Linked DNA regions of Homo sapiens: all the other regions are linked to region 3. The links are contacts of gene promoters, found by promoter capture Hi-C in human tissues and cell types (Jung and others, 2019). All regions are on one chromosome and are shown on one strand. Each heading gives the region's core, a stretch centred on a gene start or on the middle of the fragment in contact. The rest is flanking DNA. Distances are from core to core; before and after follow the strand shown.

What was found. Contacts are between HindIII fragments. The study calls those that stand out against the background at their distance.
Region 1: a fragment that was not itself captured here is called in contact with the fragment with the promoter of PAPPA-AS1 in region 3 in 2 of the 25 tissues and cell types used here (H1 embryonic stem cells and IMR-90 fibroblasts).
Region 2: a contact is called between a fragment that was not itself captured here and the fragment with the promoter of PAPPA-AS1 in region 3, in 1 of the 25 tissues and cell types used here (lymphoblastoid cells).

The regions. Positions count from the first base shown.
Region 1 is chr9:115,565,756-115,569,322 of GRCh38, reverse strand. No RefSeq gene overlaps it. Among named protein-coding and RNA genes, the nearest start is that of LINC00474, 360 kb to the left of the region's middle. The HindIII fragment of the contact is 5,245 bases long and covers 1-3,567 here.
Region 2 is chr9:115,645,739-115,649,225 of GRCh38, reverse strand. The region is part of intron 2 of LOC105376235 (a long non-coding RNA gene); the gene reads right to left. Among named protein-coding and RNA genes, the nearest start is that of LINC00474, 280 kb to the left of the region's middle. The HindIII fragment of the contact is 3,578 bases long and covers 1-3,187 here.
Region 3 is chr9:116,399,179-116,402,561 of GRCh38, reverse strand. PAPPA-AS1 (PAPPA antisense RNA 1) reads left to right here and starts at 1,956. Exons shown (of 1, transcript NR_103711.1): 1 at 1,956-3,383. PAPPA (pappalysin 1) reads right to left here. Exons shown (of 22, transcript NM_002581.5): 22 at 241-3,383. The HindIII fragment of the contact is 20,173 bases long and covers 1-3,383 here.

The DNA.
Region 1 (3,567 bases), core at 978-3,477, 830 kb after region 3:
ATAGATACAGAAAATAGATAGATAGATACATAGATAGATAGATACATAGATAGATAGATAGATAGATAGATAGATAGATAGATAGATACATAGATAGATGCATAGATACATAGATACATAGATAGATATTCCAATAGGTTTTGGTGTACCAGTGGTTTTTGGTTACATGGATGAATTATATAGTGGTGAATTTTGAGATTTTAGTCCACCCGTCACCTGAGTAGTGTACATTGTATCCAATATGCAGCTTTTATCTCACAACCCCCTCCCAACCTCCCTCTTCTGCGTATCCAAAGTCCTTTATATCACTCTGTATGCTTTTGTGTACACATAGCTTAGCTCCCAATTATAAGTGAAAACATATGGTATTTGGTTTTCCATTCATGAGTTACTTCACTTAGAATAGTGGCCTCCATCTCCACCCAAATCACTGCAAAAGACGTTATTTCATTCAGTTTTATGGTGAGTAGTATTCAGCCATAAATAGGAAGATATATATATATGTATATATTTTACTCAGCCATAAAAAGGGATGAAATATGTATCTTCCTATTTATATAGCACAGGTTCTTTAGCTACTCATTGGTCAATGGGCTCTTAGGTTGGTTCTATATCTTTGCAATTGCAGATTGTTCTGCAATAAACATGTGTGCGTGTGTCTTTTTCATATAATTACTTCTTTTCCCTTGGGTAGTTTATTAGTCTGTTTTCATGCTGCTTATAAAGACACACCCAAGACTGGGCAATTTAAAAAAACAAAAGAGGTTTATTGGAGTTACAGATCCACATTGCTGGAGAGACCTCACAATCAGGGTAGAAGGCAAGGAGGTTCAAGTCACATCTTACATAGATGGAAGCAGGCAAAGAGAGAGCTTGTGCAGAGAAACTCCCGTTTTTAAAACCATCAGATATCATGAGACCCATTCATTATCATAAGAATAGCACTGGAAAGACCTGCACCTATGATTCAGTTATCTCCCACTGGGTCTCTCCCACAACACGTGAGAATTATGGGAGCTACAAGATGAGATTTGGGTGGGGACACAGAGTCAAATCATATAATTTCGCCCATGACACCCTTAAATCTCATATCTTCACATTTCAAAACCAATCTTGCCTTCCCCACAGTCCCCCAAAGTCTTATCTCATTTCAGCATTAACTCAAACATCTACAGTCCAAAGTCTCATCGGAGATAAGGCAAGTCCCTTCTGCCTATGAGCCTGTAAAATCAAAAGCAAGTTAGTTACTTCCTAGATACAATGGAGGCACAGGCATTGGGTAAATACACTCATTCCAAATGGGATAAATTGACCAAAACAAAGGGGCTACAGATCCCATGCAAGCCTGAAATCCAGCAGGGCAGTAAAATCTTAAAGCTCCAAAATAATCTCCTCTTACTCCAGGTCTCACACCCAGGTCACATTGATGCAACAGGTAGGATCCCACAGCCTTGGGCAGCTCTGTCCCTGTGGCTTTGTAGGGTATAGTCCCCCTCCTGGCTGCTTTCATGGGCTAACATTGAGTGTCTGCAGCTTTTCCAGGCACACAGTGCAAGCAGTTGATGGATCTACCATTCTGGGGTCTGGAGGACGGTGGCCCTCTTCTCACAATTCCACTCAATGGTGCTCCAGTAGAGTCTCTGGGTGGTGGCTTCAACCCCACATTTCCCTTCCACACTGCCTTAGCAGAGGTTCTCCATGAGGGCCCCACCCCTGCAGCAAACTTCTGCCTAGACCTCCAGGCATTTCCATACATCTTCTGATATCTAGGTGGAGGTTCCCAAACTCCAATTATTGACTTCTGTGCACTGGCAGGCTCAACACCACATGGAAGCTGGCAGGGCTTGGGGCTTGCACCCTTGAAGCCACAGCTTGAGCTCTACATTGGCCCCTTTCAGACATGGCTGGAGAAGTTGGGACGCAGGGCACCAAGTCCCTAGGCTGCACACAGCATGGGGACTCTGGGCCTGGCCCATGAAACCACTTTTTCCTCCTAGGCCTCTGGGTCTGTGATGAGAGATGCTGCCATGAAGACCTTTTTCAGGCTCTGGAGATATTTTCCCCATTGTCTTGGGGATTAACATTCAACTTCTTTTTACTTATGCAAATTTCTGCAGCTGGCTTGAATTTCTCCTCAGAAAAGGAAGTTTTCTTTTGCATTGTCAGGCTGCAAATTTTCTGAGTTTTTATAGTTTGCTTCTCTTATAAAACTGAATGCCTTTAACAGCACGCAAGTCACATCTTGAATGCTTTGCTGCTTAGAAACTTTTTCCACCCATGCCTGTAATCCCAGCACTTTGGGAGACTGAGGCAGGCAGATCACTTGAGGTCAGGAGTTTGAAACCAGCCTGGCCAACATGGTGAAACCTTGTCTTTACTAAAAATACAAAAAAAAAAAAAAATTAGCCAGGCATAGTAGCAGGCACCTGTAATCCCAGCTACTCAGGAGGTTGAGGCAGGAGAATTGCTTGAACCCAGGAGGTGGAGGTTTCAGTGAGCCGAGATCACACCACTACACTCCAGCCTGGATGACAGAGTGAGACTCCAAAAAAGAAGAAAAAAAGAAAGAAAGAAAGAAAGAGAGAGAGAGAGAAAGGAAGGAAGGAAGGAAAAAGAGAGAGAGGAAGGAAGGAATGAATGAATGAAGGAAGGAAGAAAGGAAGGAAGGAAGGAAGAAACTTATTCCACCAGATACCCTAAATCATCTTTCTCAAGTTCAAAGTTCTGCAGATCTCTAGGGCAGGGGCAAAATGCTGCCAGTCTTTTTGCTAAAACATAACAAGAGTCACCGCTGCCAATCTTTTTGATAAAACATAACAAGAGTCATCTTTACTGCAGTTCCCAACAAGTCCCTTATCTCCATCTGAGACCACCTCAGCCTGGATTTCATTGCCTGTATCATTATCAGCATTTTGGTTAAAACCATTCAACAAGTATCTAGGGAGTTCCACACTTTCCCACATTTTCCTGTCTTCTTCTGAGCCCTCTAAACTTTTCCAACCTCTGCCTGTTACCCAGTTCCAAAGTCGCTTCCACATTTTCAGTTATCTTTTCAGCAGCACCCACTCTCAGTACCAATGTACTATTTTAACCTGTTTTCATGCTGATAATAAAGACATCCTTGAGACTAGGCAATTTACAAAAGAAAGAGGTTTATTGGACTTACAGTTCGACATGGCTGGGGAGGCCTCACAATCATGGTGGAAGGCAAAGAGGAGCAAGTCACATCTTATGTGAATGGCAGCAGGCAAAGAGAGAACTTGTGTGGAGAAACTATCATTTTTAAAACCATCAGGTCTCATGAGACTTATTCACTATCATGAGAACAGCACAGAAAAGACCTGCCCCCATGATTCAGTTATCTCCCACCAGGTCCCGTCCACAACACGTGGGAATTATGGGAGCCACAAGATGAGATTTGGGTGGGGACACAGAGCCAAACCATATCAGGTAGATACTCAGTAGTGAGATTGCTGGATTAAATGGTAGATCTACTTTTAGTTCTTTAAGGAATCTCCATACTATTTTCCATAAAAGTTCGACTAATTTACATTCCTAACAAGAGTG
Region 2 (3,487 bases), core at 149-2,648, 750 kb after region 3:
TAATGTGTCAACTAGATAACCAGGTATCATCATTAAGTTATCATATAAAAAAAGAGTAAATGAGCTCTACTCTGGAACTTAAGGGGCTATTTCATGACTAAAATTTAAAACTTGGTTTAGTAGGCACATTTAGTTATCCATAGGAAGAAGCCTTGGGTTGAAAATATTTGGTAAATAGCAGGCTTTTTGGAATTAGAGTTCTAGTGCTAGTCCATCATATTCTAACTCATAGACCTTGGCATCCATTTAACCTTTCCAAGTCTCAGTTTTTCTACCAGAAAAATTGGAAACATGCATAATATGCACGCTATCTTTGCAAATGTTAGGCACATCATGTATGAGAAAAACTGTTTACAAAGTGCCTGGTGCCTAGCAAGCTTCATAAATGCGAGCTATGTATTATTATTGGGGGTTATTTTATATCCTCTCATTTCACTGCCTACTCATAGGTCACAGGCTGTGCTGGAAATAGTAATCTCCAAATAAGTGAGATATCTTTGTGTTTATAAATGTGTCTACAGGTTCATAGTGCCATTTCCATGAAGACTGCCCAAGCATGTTTTTGTCTAGAAAGTGGTAGATAGACTGTAACTGTGCCATTAATTACTTACTGGGTAATCAAATGACCTGCGCTCAAGTTTTAAGTTTCAAATGTGCCTGGGATTCAGTCTCCAGTCCCTCGCCATTGTTGTTCAATTTCCCCTCACTTCTCTGTTCTCTTCTATGCCTCAACTTTACTGATTTTTTAATGCTGAAAACAAAAATCATTTAATTTCCTGACTCTAACCATGCCCTAAGTGTCTCATCTTCCACCAAAAGCAGCTAATCAAGGTACTTTGATAGACAAAAGATTTCCCACTCTGGGAGGAATTTTCATGCTAGCTGTTGGGTTAGTCTATGTATTTCTTCCCTCTATGATTAAAACAGAAACGTGGGCTGTGTGTGGTGGCTTGCACCTGTAATCCCAGCACTTTGGGAGGCCAAGAGGAGAAGACCGTTTGAGGCCAGGAGTTTGAGGCTGCAGTGAGATATTGTCATGCCACTGCACTCCTCCCTGGGCAACAAAGCAAGACCACATCTCTAAAAAAAAAAAAAAAAGAAAGAAAAATTATCCCTGTGTGGTGGTGCACACCTGCAGTCCTACCTTCTCAGGAGGCCAAGACGGGATGATCACTAGAGCCCAGGAGTTTCAAGCTGCAGTGAGCTATGATCAAGCCACTGCAGTCTGGTCTGGGTAACAGAATGAGACTCTGTCTCCAAAAGAAAAGAAAAAAAAAAAGCAGACGTGTGTATATAGTAAACAGTATCCTTATCAACTAGGAGGCAACTACCTGTCTGAGCCACATTTAGAGGCAGGTAGGGAAGTTAATGAGAACTTCACTAAACATATTTATCTAAGCTGAACCTTAAAGGATGAAATAATCAGGTTCTCAGTCCAAGGACATCCCGTTCCTTGGTGCTATTTCAAGTCACAATAAGGTAGACCCAATTAGGTGAGCTACCAGCATGCTCAGAGAGACAATTTACCACCAGTAAAGACCATTAGAGTTAATAGAAGTTTCAAAACCAGTGAAGGGCTCATGAAGGGTGAGAATGGAAGGTGTTCTTGGACATTTGCTCTGGGTCGAAAATGCTATTGTGTATTCATTAAAACAGCAACAAAATAAAAGACCCTTCAGGAAATCCCAGTAACTAAGGTCATCAGTATCAAGAAAGCAGAGCTCTAGTCCCTGAGCAGACATTCTGTCATGCAAAGCCTCATTTAGAAATATTGACAAATTGATCTATACTATTTTTTAATGCTTAAAACACTCATGGCTGTCCTTATGTAATTGGAAGGAGGAGGCAGGAAATGGAAGGGAGGCTGTATTATTCTTTCAGAAAGTGCCTCTGAGTAAGCAAAACAAGGACAAACCTGTGACAGAGAGAGCCCTAAGAATATCGCTAATAGAAGCACTGAACTGAGGCAAACAGGTTTTATACCTGGAGGGAATATCGAAGAAAGCTCAAGAAGTACAGCAGCTAAGGACTGCCATGCTACTCTAAGTTTGGCATTGAATTGACGTCAGTTAAAGCAGCAAAAGCTATGGCTACTTTGAGTCCAGATCCTCTTAGCCACCCAGTCTATAAATGTCTGGATGATCTTTAGCTCCCCCTTATTCCTCATCACATTCACTCAAGTAATCTACTTCTAGGAACTCTCTCTTCTACGTTTCTATACTGTTGAATTCACTCTATCCTTCATGTGGTTTGGCTGTGTCCGCACTCAAATCTCATCTTGAATTGTAGCTCCATAATTCCTGTGTGTTGTGGGAGGAACCCAGTGGGAGACAATTGAATCATGAGGGCGGGTCTTTCTTGTGCTGTTCTCGTGATAGTGGTAAGTCTCATGAGACCTGATAGTTTTATAAAGCAGAGTTTCCCTGCACAAATTCGTTCTTTTATGTCACCATGTAAGACATGCTTTTTGCCTTCTGCCATGATTATGAGGCCTCCCTAGCCATGTAGAACTGTGAGACCATTAAACCTCCTTTTCTTTATAAATTACCCAATCTCTGGTATGTCTTTATCAGCAGCGTGAGAACAAAGTAATACACCCCCTGATGCTACTTTCATAGTGAAATTCCATCTAGTTTTGTTTTTTTGTTGGTTGGTTTTTTTTTTTGTTTGTTTGTTTTGTTTTGTTTTGTTTGCCTTGGTATCCCATCTCATTCTTCAAACATCAACTTGCAAATAAGTCACATGGGGATTTTGTTAAATTGCAGATTCTGCTTTAGTAGGTCTGGGATGCAGCCTGGAATTCTGCATGTCTATGTTGCTGCTGGTGAGAGGACCACACTTTAAGAGTGGAGCACTAGGGGCAAAGCCAGGTCTTGAACCCCCTATGGCCATGTTTCTTATACCACTCTCAGCAGTCTTCTGAAGGATTAGGGGAATAGACTTTCTCTATGGACCCCCAAGCCTGAAATGAGGACCACTGGGTGGAAGGAAAGCAAAGTATTAGTATCCTGAAAACAATTCTGACATCAAGAACTGATGGACAATAATATGGACTGTCTTGTGAGATAATGACTACCCTGTCATTGTAAATATTCAAGCAAGGATCAGACAGTATTTTTTTCTAATATTTTACTGTAAACATTTCAACCATAAAGGACACTTGTAAAAACTACAGTGAAAACACATATGCTTACTTCCTAGATGCTATATTAGCATCTTACTATGTTTGATTTATCCCATAGATATCCATTTATTAATCCCTGTATTTACCAAACAATGCAGTATTGTTTTTCTAGTCCTTGTACATGGGCCCCTCCATCCCAAAGCCAGCAATGATGTGTTGGATCATTCTCATGCCTGGAATCTCTCTAACTCTCCTACATTCAGGTGAAGAAAGTTTTCTGCTTCTAAGAGCTCATGTGATTGGGACCAACCCAAATAAACCAGGACAATCTCCCTACCTTAAAATCTGAACCATATCTGCCAA
Region 3 (3,383 bases), core at 707-3,206:
ACATATGCTTTAGCTCCCCAGAACTTTCTTATAACATGTAAGAAAGTTTTTCAGTTTTTGCATATGCAAAATTAGATACTTTCAGGAATTAATTTTGTAGAGGAATCGATATATATTGGATAAAATCTTGTTCTATCATTGATTGTCTAATTCCAGGCCCCAGGGCTCTCTCCATGTTAGCGTGTATATATGACAGCCCTTTATCATTCCGCAACACACAAAAACCACACAACAACACACTGAAGCGTACAAGCTATTATATATTTTCATAATATAGAACTTTAAAGTATAGTAATCAACAGTGGCAAAATATTTCTGTCTCTGACATTATTATTTGTGAGATCCAACCTGTAATTGAGATCAGAGAAAACAGTATGGGAAAACAAATCCATGAGAACAGGATAAAAATATCATGAACAGCAAAATATGTCTGAGTATTTAAAACTGTATAGAAAAAATAAATTAGATGAACAATTGTGTAAATATAAATTAAAAAAGATGACATTCTTAATAAATAAAGTTTACTATTTACATTTTTATATATTGCCAAAAGATTTAACTTAGATCCATAAAAACACATAAACAGAAAAAAAAATAGGAGCAGCAAATTTATGCGCGTGAGGTACAGAAAAAGGATTGGAATTGTGTTTAGTTTTTGGTGTTTAGATTATTTTCTTTGTGTCTTTCTTCTTTTTCTTTTTTTTTTTCTTTTTTACAATAGGCCAGAAGAATTCTTATGAGAACAGCTTTTAAGCACTTCAATGGAGTGTCATTTTTTTGGTAGCTTCCAGAAGGTGCCAAACAGGTTTCAACATCATATTAATTAGAAATACCCATAATAATTATAACAATAATAAAAAGGTATAATATGGTACATAAATATGGAAGAGCAGTTTGTAATATGAATACATTTTCTCTAGACGAGATCACAGTTTTATTTTGTAAATATTACATTTAAGTATATATATACACACATATATGTACAACTATATATACATGTGCATATATATGTAAATTTATATTTATATATAATATCTTTATATAGATAGATATCTGCAGACAGGTTATTGATTATAGAGACCCAAGAAAGCAACTCAATAATTGTTCAAAGTTTTCCTCACTGACTGCTGGTGTGTAGTTTAAGAAGCCCCCATTTGTTTGCACTCAGAATGCCTTATCTTCTTTTAATGGAACACTTGATGTGGAATTTTAAGTCTGAGAAGTGAGGTGCCTTCTGAAGAAGAGATTTTAGAGACTCCCTTCCTCTATAAGTTGGAAATGACCAGAAGTCTTAAGTAGACGACAGTTAGCTGACTTTGACATTGTAGGACATAATCAGCTTTTAACCAAATTATAGAACTGGTAAAGGGTAAGATCAAATTTGCCAAAAAAATAAAATATTCTCCAATACAGGTCTCTCTTTTAAGGTGGACTACAATTCAGGAGCTCCGGCTTTATTCCTTGAAATATCAAACAAGCACTCCCTGTCTTGTCTTTCTAAAAGGCCGATGGGCCTGTGCATTCTTGAATAATAACCCATGGACTTTGTGTCAAGCGTTGGCCCTCACAGCCCACCTAAAACCTCAGGGCCTCAAAATCTCCTGCCCTCCCACTGTGAGGTAGGTATATAGTATTATCCCCATTTTGCAGCTAGAGAAACTGATGCAAATGTAGAGGCAATTGGATAACTTGTTCAAGATCACTGAGCAAACTGCTGCCTGGAGTCAAAAATTCTAACTTCTGTACAACAGGGACATAATTTCTCTTTTGGCTATTATACATTTCTTTTAAAAAGCAAGTGATTGGTAGGAATTTGGCAAAAGTTGAATAAGTTACAAGAACAGGCTTTTATTCATTTGCTATTTGGTTTTTATGTTTCTTGTTTACTTCGTTTGATTTGTTTCTCAAAACTCACTCAGTGGGATTACCTGTCTGTCATGTAGCAGCTTTTTAAAAAACTGGACTGTGCAGTGTGGTTCTGAGTGCAGTCTTTATAAAGCCCAGTGCTGTACTGGTAAATATAAACATTTTATAACGTGAAAAGCACAACGACACAATATGTCCCCTTAATAGCTGGAAAAACCAATATAAGCCCTCCCACTCCCTACTACCACTGATTGCCACCAAACAAATAAACAAAATGCCCACCCCACCCAACAACAACAATAACACATCAAGGGGGAAAATGTCATATTTCCTGGACCTACCACAATGTACAGAAAATAACAGACAGTGTTATCAAATCCCACTCTATGTCTTCTAGGGAAATCTTTATGTTTGTGTCTACCTACTGAGGCTGTAGAATAAACAATTTCCTTTAGGAAACATAAAAATAGGTTTTTTATTCTTAGTTTTTAATCATGCATTTTTATTTCCTTTTAATCTCTTTGTCTTCTATTATCTCTATCTGTACAGCTTTGTCACCATTTTTTTTTATTTTCTCACTTGAAGTAGTTCCAGAAAAAAACACAAAACCTCAAAACTGTTAACTTGACCTTATAATTTCCTTTCTCTTTCTTTCTTTCTTTCTTTTTCTTTCTTTCACACAGGTAAGACCTATAACAACAAATTGACAATTACAACCAAGTTAAATCGAACCTGGAAGGGAGGTAGCTGAAATCTGTCTCAAAGAATTATTTTCAACAAATAGTATTTAAGCATTGGCCAGGATGGGAATAAGACCAAGAGAACCGTCTAGGCAGTGACTCAATGTGTTGAAGCCAGGAGTGGCAGCTGATACCCTGCATTTTCAAAGCCCTACCATCTATGACAATCTTTCCCTTCCTTAACACCCCAATTCACCATCAAAACTCATTTCCCAAGGACTGTATTTCCTTAAAAGGTTGTTGGCACAGAATCTGGGGGTAATGCAAATCCTTTGGGTAGGTAGTTAAGATTGTGGCTTGGAAAAGCTTCCCTAAATAGGGCTTAGAGGACTGTCCACCTCATCTTTCATATTTTGCTGCTAACAATCTAATACTTCAGATGCAGAACCTTCAGTGTTTTAGGGCCTTTGAGCTGCTGACACACAATAGTGCATCAGAGCTGCCTCTCAGTGCTCCGGTCACCTACACAGAAGATGACTGAAGGAATGAAATGACGAGTTAATTCCCAGGAAGAAAATGAAACTGGGAACAAATGCATTGCCCAAATTGAGCTGACCCTCCTCCACTAAGGTTTGAAAAGACCCTATTAAAGATACCTTCCATGTGGGCACGAGGTTGGCCACCAATCAAGTAGCCTCTTTTGCCTAATATCCTTGGCAAATATAAATTTGTTAGCAACAGGTCTGAATGAAAGAGACTGGGTGGGTCTTGATTCAGAAGAGCTGAATTCACTCTGTGAGTCTGAAGATACAAGTCAGCCTCCAGGAATCTTTGCTT